3 separate regions of the Homo sapiens genome follow, and regions 1 and 2 are each linked to region 3. The links are contacts of gene promoters, found by promoter capture Hi-C in blood cells and fetal thymus (Javierre and others, 2016). All regions are on one chromosome and are shown on one strand. The core of a region is centred on a gene start or on the middle of the fragment in contact, and the rest is flanking DNA. Distances in the headings are between cores, read along the strand shown.

What was found. The method cuts DNA at HindIII sites, captures the fragments that hold promoters and counts their contacts. A CHiCAGO score of 5 or more calls a contact.
Region 1: a fragment that was not itself captured here is called in contact with the fragment with the promoter of BAIAP2L2 in region 3 in 1 of 17 cell types (endothelial precursors); the score reaches 6.1 in endothelial precursors.
Region 2: a contact is called between a fragment that was not itself captured here and the fragment with the promoter of BAIAP2L2 in region 3, in 3 of 17 cell types (naive B cells, endothelial precursors and total B cells). The highest score is 7.6, in naive B cells.

What each region holds. Positions count from the first base shown.
Region 1 is chr22:38,423,480-38,427,503 of GRCh38, reverse strand. It overlaps LOC105373030 (a long non-coding RNA gene), which reads left to right and starts at 3,286. Exons shown (of 5, transcript XR_938254.4): 1 at 3,286-3,662. LOC101927183 (a long non-coding RNA gene) reads right to left here and starts at 3,226. Exons shown (of 3, transcript XR_938252.3): 1 at 3,081-3,226; 2 at 2,532-2,691. KCNJ4 (potassium inwardly rectifying channel subfamily J member 4) reads left to right here. Exons shown (of 2, transcript NM_152868.3): 2 at 1-1,177. The coding sequence ends at 709. The HindIII fragment of the contact is 1,005 bases long and covers 2,073-3,077 here.
Region 2 is chr22:38,582,234-38,586,030 of GRCh38, reverse strand. FAM227A (family with sequence similarity 227 member A) reads left to right here. Exons shown (of 17, transcript NM_001013647.2): 17 at 1-3,797. Among named protein-coding and RNA genes, the nearest start is that of DMC1, 14 kb to the right of the region's middle. RefSeq lists a silencer at 220-420 and an enhancer at 2,965-3,014. The HindIII fragment of the contact is 3,497 bases long and covers 475-3,797 here.
Region 3 is chr22:38,108,230-38,112,212 of GRCh38, reverse strand. It overlaps BAIAP2L2 (BAR/IMD domain containing adaptor protein 2 like 2), which reads left to right and starts at 1,529. Exons shown (of 14, transcript NM_025045.6): 1 at 1,529-1,738; 2 at 3,005-3,080; 3 at 3,872-3,958. The coding sequence starts at 1,688. It overlaps PLA2G6 (phospholipase A2 group VI), which reads left to right. Exons shown (of 17, transcript NM_003560.4): 17 at 1-718. The coding sequence ends at 52. The HindIII fragment of the contact is 13,026 bases long and covers 1-3,983 here.

The DNA.
Region 1 (4,024 bases), core at 1,326-3,825, 310 kb before region 3:
CAAGAGCCACATTGTGGAGGCCCACGTGCGGGCCCAGCTCATCAAGCCCTACATGACCCAGGAGGGCGAGTACCTGCCCCTGGACCAGCGGGACCTCAACGTGGGCTATGACATCGGCCTGGACCGCATCTTCCTGGTGTCGCCCATCATCATTGTCCACGAGATCGACGAGGACAGCCCGCTTTATGGCATGGGCAAGGAGGAGCTGGAGTCGGAGGACTTTGAGATCGTGGTCATCCTGGAGGGCATGGTGGAGGCCACGGCCATGACCACCCAGGCCCGCAGCTCCTACCTGGCCAGCGAGATCCTGTGGGGCCACCGCTTTGAGCCTGTGGTCTTCGAGGAGAAGAGCCACTACAAGGTGGACTACTCACGTTTTCACAAGACCTACGAGGTGGCCGGCACGCCCTGCTGCTCGGCCCGGGAGCTGCAGGAGAGTAAGATCACCGTGCTGCCCGCCCCACCGCCCCCTCCCAGTGCCTTCTGCTACGAGAACGAGCTGGCCCTTATGAGCCAGGAGGAAGAGGAGATGGAGGAGGAGGCAGCTGCGGCGGCCGCGGTGGCCGCAGGCCTGGGCCTGGAGGCGGGTTCCAAGGAGGAGGCGGGCATCATCCGGATGCTGGAGTTCGGCAGCCACCTGGACCTGGAGCGCATGCAGGCTTCCCTCCCGCTGGACAACATCTCCTACCGCAGGGAGTCTGCCATCTGACCTCCAGGCCCGGCCCTCACCACTGCCCACAAGAGCCTCTGCCGGGGGTGGGATGCCAGGACACCCCCTCCCACACTCAGGACAGAGCCAACCCTGGCTCCGTGGACCTTCTGGAGGAAGGTGGGGGTTTCAAAGACTGGGGGACCCCTTCCTCCTGACTCCAGCACCCAGGCCTGGGAAGAGCTCGGCCCCGATCAGCCTGAGTTCCGCCAGCGCCTACTTCTGGTGGCTCTAGGTCCCCGGATCCACCACCCTTCCCCCACTGACTCTTCAAGGACGTGCCCTCTTTGCTCTCAGAACCTTGGGGAAGGTGGCTGGACTGCTGGGCGGGGGACATCTCGGGGTTTCAGGGTGGGCAGGGGGTTAGTTTGGGGAGGGGGGGGTGCGTTTCTTTTGCATGACTGTGGCCTGTTGCTCATGACTTTCTTTTGTAAATATCTATAAATGGAGACAGATGGAGACACCAAATTCACTTTCTGCCGTTTTTACCTGCTGGACAGGGAGATGCAGTCCCTCTCTGTGCACCCCTCCCCACCCAGCCCATCAAGCCTAGCGCCTTCCCCTGCCCAGCTGGCTGGCCCCTTGAGGCCCTCAACGCCAGCCACCTTGGCCCTTGGATGGTGTTGGGTTTGGGTGCAGAGGAGGGACTCTGAGGGGTGGGATGAGGGACCATCCCTCCCTCCCTGCAGTCCCTCCAGCCCCGGGCCCAGCCCAGATTGACAACAGAGTTTGTAACCATATATATATATATATATATATATTTTTTTTTTATTTTTTATTATTATTTTTTTTTCTTGAGACGGAGTTTTGCTCTTGTTGCCCATGCTGGAGTGCAATGGAGCAATCTCGGCTCACTGCAACCTCCGCTTCCCAGGTTCGAGCGATTCTCCTGCCTCAGCCTCCTGAGTAGCTGAGATTACAGGCATGAGCCACCATACTCAGCTAAGTTTTGTATTTTTAGTAAAGATGGGGTTTCACCATGTTGGCCAGGCTGGTCTCGAACTCCTGACCTCAGGTGATCCACCCACCTTGGCCTCCCAAAGTGCTGGGATTACAAGTGTGAGTCACCGCACCCAGCCGTAACTATATATTTTTAATAAAGTACATGGTCCATTAGGGGTAGGCTGGTTGAAGATGGAGGGGTGAGAAGGAGAGAAAGAGAGTGAGCAAGCACACATGTAATTGTGCCTGTGTGTGTCGTGTGTGTGCCTGTGTGTCATGTGTGTGCCTGTGTGTTATGTGTGTGCCTGTGTATGTGGCCCTTTCTGAGTGACTGACCCTTGGAGGGAACTTTACCACCTGCCATTCTCCTTCCGGCGAGTCAATAGAAGGATCTGGAGTTGGCATCAAAGAACCAAAAGCTTTGATGTCAGAGCTTTGTTACCTAGTAGCTGTGTGACTGTCAGCTCTTGGCCTCAGTTTCATCCTCTGCAGAATGGGATTAACCATCCCTCCCGCCTGCAATGATGGGCAGGACAGCCCTGTGTGGACGTCAGCCAACCCTTCCTAACTCAGGTGGAAGTGGGAAGGGCCCACCCGATCCGCACCTCCCTACATACATGCAGATCCACACACCGCTGGTAGAGCTGGCGGCAGGACACTGATGGGAAGGGCACAGGGGCCAGGAAACCTGGTCACAGACTTAACCAAGACAGGCTTGGTCTCTGCTCTCTGTGGGACCTCGGGTAAGTCCCTTCCCTTCTCTGCCTTCGGTTAGCCTATGCTCTATAACCAGCCAGCACAAAACAGAGACCAATGACGCATCCTCTCTTAGGGTCCTGTGGGTGGGCTGGGGTTCCTAGCTGATTTCTCCTGGGCTTACCCGGCAGCTGTGCTCAGCTGGAACATCAGTGGGCCTGGAAAACCCCCGATGAGCCCATGTACATGTCGGCAGCTGGTATGGCTTTCTGGGGTGGTGGTGGGGTTTGGTTCTCCTCCAATAGGCTGCATCACATTCCTTCATGGCGACTCCGGGCAGCAACCTACGAGGGCAAAGGTAGAAGCTGCAAGGTCTCCGGAGGCCTAGCCCCTTGAACTTGGATAACATCATTTCCACTGCAGTCTATCGGCCAGAGTCCAGGTCACGAGGCCAGCCCAGATTCAAAGGGTGGGAAATTAGTTTCCACCTTTTGGGAAAGAGGCAAAGTCACATTGCCAAGGACATGCCGAGCAGGAGGGAGCTGTGGCCATAGTTGGTCATCTATCCCAGAGCCTTGGAGTTTGAGGGTTCCTCCCACCCGACTTCTACTCTACAGGCTGACTGTGTGCCCCAGGCTGAAAGGAAGCAGAAGGCACCCTTCTGGGTCCCAGGGATCTTCCACACAAAGGTGCCAGCTGCCTCTAGAAACAGGGAACCAGCAGGCAAGCTTACCTGCTGTGCAGCACAGCGAGCTGCCTTGTGAATGACCACGTCTCACCAGCCCCGGCAGCATAGCTGCCGTTTGGGTGGATCACTGTGCACCCCGTATGCTGCGCTGCTGCAGAAGGAAACTTGAGGCCTCTTTCCTGGAGACAGAGCCAAGCTCAGGATCCAAGCCTCCCAATAGATAACTCATAATGTCTCTCATTTGCATAACACCTTTCACGTCCTTGGGTTCATTGAACTCTTACGAAACTCCAAGAGGAAGCCAGGACAAGGATTATGGCCTCCTTTTACTGATGAGGAAATAAATAGAGGCCCAGAGAACCAGGGGGCTGGCTGGAAACAAAGTGAGGACAGTCAGAGGCCCGGGAGCCTGCTTCTCCTTCACTCCATCCTCTCCCAGGTGGGGGCTCAATGAGGGGGAGGGGCTGCTTCCTTTCCTCCTCTGTGCCCTCCCAGATTTCCCAGAGTGCACCTGTGGCCTTTGGCCCCCACCCCCACCGAAGAGCCTGTGGGGGCCGCTCAGCAAGAAGGAAATTCAGTGGCGCATCTGCCCACATTCTGGAAGGACCCCTGGTCCCCTTCTGTCAGGTGAGTACCCCAGGGTCTCAATCCTGACCCTGGAGGCTCATGAGAGATGTCCCTCTATCCAGCCCTGCAGGCCCTGGGTGGGTCTCGCCAGGTCTCCCCACTCCTCCCACCACATCCCCAGGATGCCACGGCTTCCTGGGCTACGAGCAGTAACTGAAGAGGATTCAGGCTCAGGTGCTCCCAGACTCAGAAGCCTCCACCTAGAGCACGTCTTAGGGGATGTCTACCCTCCTCTAAGATGTGCGAGAGGCCCGGATGCAGGGTGGGGAAGGGGTACATGTGGGGTTACCCCCAAGAGGGCCCATCATCCACCATCCAGAGCAACATGGGGCGTTCCAAGGTCCCCCCAGGCCCTTCACCAG
Region 2 (3,797 bases), core at 974-3,473, 470 kb before region 3:
CAAAGACAGAAATAGGAATCATGATTTCTCCATAGGGGAAGGATTCCGTTGTAGTTTTTCCTAGGCTGAGTGAAAAGCAGGAGTAGAGAGTTGGTGCTTGGGTCACTACATTTATTCATAGATTTACTCTTTCAGTATTTTATTACGTGCATGCTGGTAAGTATGTTACAAATATGACCTCATACAAAGGTAAAACTTTCATACCAGCCGTATGAAGTAGGGATTATCCACTGCATTTTACGCAGCAGCAAGCCCAGGTTTAGAAAGGTTTCCGAAGTTCTCTGCTGTAGACACTGGGTAATTAACAGTAGATAAGACACAGTCCCTGTTCTCAAGGGAGTCACCATCTGGTAGAGGGAAGACAGATGTATCAACACATTAAATGCTGTAAGTATTGGACAGAGGAAAAAGAGAAAAGTGTTGTGAGGGAAAAGGAAAATGGGCCTAGAGGAGTGCAATTTTTTGTAACAAGCTTTGTGGAACTATTAATTTGATAATTTGATAGGCGCTTCTATTATGCTGCCTCTGAACCTTTGCCTCCTGCTCCTCTAACCACTGGGATTGCCAGCCTATTTCCAATATGCCCTCTTTCTGCCTGGCAAACATCTTGTCTTTTCTAAACTCAGCCCAGGGACATGACATCTGTAATGTGTTTCTGTGTGACTCCCAGGCTTCTGCCTTCTTAACCTCTCACCTTCCAGCTCATTTGAGTGAATCTTTGTCCAAGAATTGAGAGAAACTTTATAGGTAAAGCATGCACATGTTGTCTGATTTAATCTAAAATAGAAATAAGAAAACAAAAAATAATACTGCAACTAGGGACACATTTAGTCACTCCCAGTTCATGAGACAAGGAATAGTAAAGTTCATTCCTACCATAGCAAAAGTCAGGATTTAAATGTAAATTAATTTTTTTAATTAAAAAATTTTAAATTAGGCCAGGCGTGGTGGCTCACACCTGTAATCCCAGCACTTTGGGAGGCTGAAGTGGGCAGATCACGAGGTCAGGAGTTCGAGACCATCCTGGCCAACATGGTGAAACCCCATCTCTACTAAAAATACAAAAATTAGCTGGATGTTGTGGCGGGCACCTGTAATCCCAGCTACTCGGGAGGCTGAGGCAGAAGAATCGTTGGAACCCAGGTGGCGGAGGTTGCAGTGAGCCAAGACCATGCTATTGCACTCCAGCCTGGGCAACAAGAGCGAAACTCTGTCTCAAAAAAAAATTTTTTTTAATTAATTTTAACTAAATTAAATTTTTTAGAGGCAGACTCTCAGTCTGTTGTCCAGGCTGGAATGCAGTGGCGCAGTCATAGCTCACTGCAACCTCAAATTCCTGGGCTGAAGCAATCCTCCCACCTCAGCCTCCCAAGTAGCTAGGACTACAGGTATGCCACCATGTCTGGCTAATTTTTAAAGAAATTTTTTTGTAGAGATGGGATCTCACTGTGTTGCCCAGGCTGGTCTCGAACTCCTGGCTTCAAGTAATCCTCCTGCCTTGTCCTTCCAAAGCACTGGGATTCTAAGTGTGAGCCACCACACCTGGCCTGGAGTATCTAATATTGTATAACATAATAATAGTAATCATAGGTGATGTCATTTATTGAGTACTTAGTATGTGCTGAGTGCTCTGCTAAGTCTGGTTTAGACATTATCTCAGTTAACCTTCCTGGTGTCCCCCAAGATGGATATTGTTACCTCCATTTTCTCCTAGGAAGAAACGGACTTGGGGGGGATGATTAGGTATTTGCTAGATGTCTATTCTGTACCATCCCTGCACTAGGCCCTGTGAATACAGAGATAAATAAAGACACAGTCCCTGACCTTATGGGGCTCACAATCTGGAAAAAAGAGAAGGATGTGTAAACCAATAAATGCATTAATGCTCCGATAGAAAGCTGCGTGGAATCTGAGAAAAACCAAGGCAGATGAAGCCAGTGTGCCAGCAGCCCTTTGGGACAGAAGATATTTCACTGAGGGGCACAGGCACAGGGGTTGGTTTGCCAAAGGACCAGCAGCTGGGCTGAAGGGCATAGGTTTTATCATTTGAGCTTCAAGGCACAAGGCAGTGACCTGGTCTGTGCTAGAACAGTTCACCTGTCACAGCCAAGAGGAAAGAAATGGTGCAGATGGCTGTTTGCCCAAACCAAGCAGCAGATAAGCAGATCTTGGGAAATGTAGCTCATCCCTCAGACACACATCTTTACTTGAATCCTGAGTAGAACTCTAGGTGACCCCCTTGGAGGCTATTACTCATGTAAAAGGGGATGAAGGAAAGGTAAGAGAGAAGGAGCTTAGGCTTTGGCATGAGAAAATTTGGGCCTTTGAATCCCTGCCCTGCTTCACCATATGGATGTGTGACTCAGCATAGTAGCTGTGCATCTTGACCTTTCTGAACGTGCTTTCTTGACTGCAGAAAGGGAATGCCTGCCTAGGAGGGTTGTTGTGAGGATTAGATGAGATAATTTGTGCAAAGTTCTTGGCACAGTACTTTTCACTTTGTAATTGCCACAAGCTGTTATTGTTGTTATTGCTGTTATAAAGTGTACTCTTCTTGGCCGGGTGCAGTGGCTCATGCCTGTAATCCCAGCACTTTGGGAGGCCAAGGCAGGTGGATCGCCTGAGGTCAGGAGTTTGAGACCAGCCTGGCCAACGTGGCGAAACTCCATCTCTACTAAAAATACAAAAAAATTAGCCGGGCACAATGGCAGGTGCCTGTAACCTCAGCTACTCAGGAGGCTGAGGCAGGAGAATCACTTGAACCCGGGAGGTGGAGGATGCAGTGAGCTGAGATTGCACCATTGCACTCCAGCCTGGGTAACAAGAGTGAAACTCCATCTCAAAAAAAAAAAAAAAAAAGTATAGTCTTCTGAAACCAGAACGTGTGAGCACCTGCCGAGTACAAGGCACCATGTGGGGCAGATAAGCAGAACACTCTCTCACCTTCCCTTTACTACCCCAGCCACTGTCAACTCTTCATTTGCAGTTTCTCTAGGAACCACACTTTCCTATTTCTGGATCTTTTGTCTGTTGCTGCTTCTGGACCTGAAAATGCCTTCTCCTCCCTCCTCTTTGTTAACTGCCAACATCACTAATTCCTGCTCTTCCTCCAGGACCCCGCTTAGACGTCCCTCATCTTGGGAGCCTTCCCTAATATACCAGGAGCAAGGTAGGCACAAGTGCTCCACTGCATTATGCTCCAACAGCATTCTGTGCCATCCCATTATGGCAGCAGTTACCATAGTAGATTGGAATTGCCTGTCTACCTATCCACCGCTACTATTAGCCCCCATACAGCAAGAAGGTCTCCTTATTTTCTAAGCCCAGGACAAACTGCATTTCTGTCTGTCAGGACCATTTGTTGCACAGTCCAAGATCATCCCTGCATGGACCCTTTCCAGAAATGACTGAGGACTCAGAGTTGTAGCCTCTCAGGATGTTAAATATGAAGAAACCTGTCTCTGCCCTTTGTAAACATTAGAAGGGAAAATTATGGGGAAGAATTATTTGCCCTTTATAAGGGAAGCGGGGTAGAGCATCAAAGGGAACTAACATTTAAAAAGCATTTGCTGTAATGTGGGATAAAGCAAATGAGTAATTGTATGATATTCTAATTCTGTCATTCCCAGTGTTGCTGAAAACCCATACTCTCAGCATGGAAGAAGATAAATTCAGATGTTAAACTAGAAGAGATGAAGTTAAAATCCTATAGTCCTGATTTTGAATTGCTTATGAATTGATGATGAAATGTATGTTTTAGAACATACAGTTTCCTGAAGAACAGGAGGGATAGCTGG
Region 3 (3,983 bases), core at 280-2,779:
TGAGCACCGCGAGGAGTTCCAGAAGCTCATCCAGCTGCTGCTCTCACCCTGAGGGTCCCCAGCCTCTCACCGGCCCCAGCTGACCTCGTCCATTCAGCCCCTGCCAGGCCAAGCCCAGCCACTGCCCTCCCGGGCAGATCTGGGCCCAGGCACCTCTGAGTCCATAGACCAGGCCTGGGAGAATGCCAAGCTGCCTGCCCGAGGCTGGTCCTGAAGGCCTGTCTCCCACTAACCCCGCCTTCCAGCACTTTCTGTCATTCCAGGCTGGGAAAGTCTAGAGCCCCCTTTGGCCCCTTTCCCTGACTGTCAAGGACAACTGACTCCCCCATCAGCTCAAACATTAAGGGTACCCGGGCACAACCGTACCCCTGCCCCCAGCCCCAGCCTCCCTGAGGGCCTGCCGGGCTGCCTCTGCCCCAGCCCCCAGCAAGGGCACTCCCAGGCTTCCTGGTGGGTGCAGCCCACTCCCTCTGCCCTCTGCTCCGTTCCCTGGGGGCTGGGACTAAAGAAATGGGTGTCCCCCACCCCATCAGCTGGGAAAGCCCAGGCCGCAGGAGTGGGATGCCCGTTGGACTTTGCCCCTCACACTGGCCCAGCCCCTCACACTGCCCCACCCCGAGAACCCTCAGCTCTCAAAGGTCACTCCTGGGAGTTTCTTCTTCCCAATGGAAGTGGCTTAAGAGCCAAAACTGAAATAAATCATTTGGATTCAAGTTCACCTGTGTTGTGTGTGCAGTGGTGTGAGATCCACCTGTTCCCCTGACCCCCGGCTCCCCTCGGCCTTGACCCTTGGCCTTGACCGGACTTTTCCTTTGTACCCGGACACTCTGTTTTCCAGGATCCCTGGGCAGGGACACCTCCTCTTTCCTCTAGGCCTCCCCTAAACCGGCCCTTAGGGTATGCAGAGGCAGCTGCCAGGCCCACATACCCCCGGCAGGCCCAAGGAGGGCCACAATCTTCAACTTCATCTTGGAGGACCAGGGAGAGCCCCATTTGTCACCCAGAGAGGCCGGGGACTCCGCGTGGACAGGCAGCGCGTGTGCAGGGCCGAGGTCTGCCCAGGGCTGGGCAACTCCAGCGTTTGTGCTGCTCCTGCTCCGGCAAGTGGAGGAGCTGGGCGGGCCAGAGCGGCTGTGGGAGCCAAGCTCAGAGGGCGTGGCCCCACTGTGAGCCGCAGGCCTGAGGACAGTGAGAAGTAAAGCGGCGTTCCCCTCCAGGGGCTGCTGCTGCTGGGTCTGGCAGAGAGAGTCCTGGGGGAGGGCATCGGGCAGCGCCCGCCCAGTAAGGTGGGCAATGCCTGGTATAGGCAGGTGGGAGGGCGGGGCCCCCCAGGGTTGGGGTCCTTGAGGAGGGGGTGACCCAGGAGGGGGCTCATCCACATGGGCACTTGTATCAGCCCACAGCTCCAAGGGGTGAATAATTGAAGGGCAGGTCACACGAGCCTGCCCGGCACAGGATGCCTTCCCTGCCGGATCTGGTTACGCCCCAGATCACATTCTGACATCCCGAGTTGGTGAATAATTAAGCTGCCACTCCTCTGAGGCAGGCCTCCATCTCCAGGTCCCTCTCCGAGGCTTCCTCGCTGCCAGCTGAGTCGTGGGCACCTGAGGGACTACCTACCACTGCTCCCGGCTGTGCCATCGCCACCAGCTCCCAGCCTCCTGCTCAGACCCGGGACAGCCCCTCCATGGCCCCCGAGATGGACCAGTTCTACAGGTCCACCATGGCCATCTACAAGGTGAGCACATGGGTGGCCAAGCCAGGCCTGAGCCCCTCCTCCCAGGGCACAGAAATCAGGCCCGCTCTGGAGGACGGAGGGCCAGCCGGGGCTACAGATGTCCTGGAAAGGGAAGCCTGGAGCCAGGCTGGGCCAGGGGTGGGTACGGGGGTAAGGATCCCCGAGAGCACTCAGCCATACAGCGGGAACCCCCAACTCCCAGATGCTGGACAAGGCAGGAGGGAGCCCAAGGCCCAGGGTGGGGAGAGTTGAGTCTGGATGAGAAGGGCCTGGCTGCCCGGCCTGGGAATAAAGAAAGACCCTCCCTCTCTCTCTCTGTCTCTCCCTCTCTCTCTCTCTCTCTCTCTCTCTCTCCCTCTCTCTCTCCCTCTCTCTGTCTCTCTCTCTCTCTGTCTCTCTCTCTCTCTGTCTCTCTCTCTCTCTCTGTCTCTCCCTGTCTCTGTCTCTCTCATTTCTGAGCCCCTCAGACTTCCTACTTCACCCCCGGGGGGTTGTTGCAGCCGCCACAGACATTTATTGAGCGCCTCCTGTGTGCAGGACCCTTTCACCTGGAGGCCTCACACCACCCACCTGTGAGGTGGAAAATGACCACCCTGCTTGATAGATGAGAAAACTGAGACCAAAGAGGTTAAACAGCTCATTCAAGGTCACGGAGGGAGGAAGAGGTGCTGCTGGGATTTGAACCGAGACCCAAGTCCAAGTCCAGGCCCAAGTCCAGGCCCGTCTTCACCATCCGGGGAGCTCTCTGCCCGGCCCCAGCCCGAGGAGGCCCACACTAATCCAGCCACAGCCTTGCCCATGGGGGGCTGTTCTCGGAGGAGGGCGAGAGCTGCCCTTGCCCCGGGGGTGACTGTTGGCAGCCCCAGGCGTGTAGCCCGGCAAGGCCTGGACACAGGGCAGGGCTGAGCCGTGCCCAGTGGGGACCACAGCAGGCGGGCCAGCTTCTGCCCAGCGGGAGGAGGAGAACCTTCCAGGTGCACCATCTCGGGAGGCACCTCGGTCCCGCCAGAGCAGACGTAAGCGGGAGCTGGCTGTGAGGGGACCACAGCTTAGAACAGGACCCCAAAAGATGGGCTCTGAGGTCCCTGCAGCCAAGAGCCAGGATTCTGGGTGAGCCTAGGTTTGTAGATGGGCCCCCCAAAGTCTGGGGCTTCTCACTGGGCTGGGGGTGCCCTGTCCCTGACGCCTGGTGACTTGACTCCATCCGTGGTTCCTTCTCGCTCCCCCATCTCTACACCTTTTTCCTCCCCTGACCCTGGGGTCCAGAGCATCATGGAGCAGTTTAACCCCGCCCTGGAGAACCTGGTGTACCTGGGCAACAACTACCTGCGTGCCTTCCACGGTGAGTGCCTGCCCGGGCCACCGAGCCCCAGCCCTGGGCCTCTGCTGTTCCCACCCACCCAGGCCCCTCCCAGATTCTCTGCATCCCACACCTGTTCATCCTCAACCCTACACCCTCCTACCCACCACCCTCACCCTCACACCTCTGCAGCCAGAGAGGCCTTATGCACCCCCACTCTCCTGTGCCCACGCACCCCAGTCCACACCCAGCACCCCTCATTGCCCCCTCCTTCAGGTGCCTCCAGACACTCCCATGATGCAGTACCAGGCCCTGCAGGCCCACACAGCCCCAGGGCAGCCCCTGACAGTGCATACATTTCTAGGCGTCACCTGGATGCCACCAGCTGAACCCACCCCTATACTCAGTCCCACCTCTGCACCCAGGCTCACACAGCAGCTGGCTTCCTCACTTCAACTGGCCACCACCCACACACCCTGCAGCTGGCCTTGACATTCACTCGGTCCCCGTGCAAACCCTTGTACCCGTCCGCTGTGGCCGCTCATACCTGCCAATAGCACCCCACTACCCACCAGTGCTGATCAACCCTGAACCTCAGGGCCTCCCATCCCCCTGCTTCTTAGATGCTTTCCACGCCACCTCCCTGCCCCCAGCCCTCACCTTATGCCCCTGCACCTGAGTTTCACAGCTCAACTGGTCACACCCTCCTCAGGGGCACACACAGATGCCCACACCCCACCCAGGACAGACACAGTCCCCTCCAGATGAAAAGAGCCTCCAGAAGGGTGGGGCAGAGGCAGGGCTGGACCAGACCTGTCCCTTCTGGTCCACAGCTCTGTCCGAGGCGGCCGAGGTCTACTTCAGTGCCATCCAGAAGATTGGGGAGCGTGCCCTGCAGAGCCCCACCTCACAGATTCTGGGTGAGGCTCCCCCTCCACAGCAGAC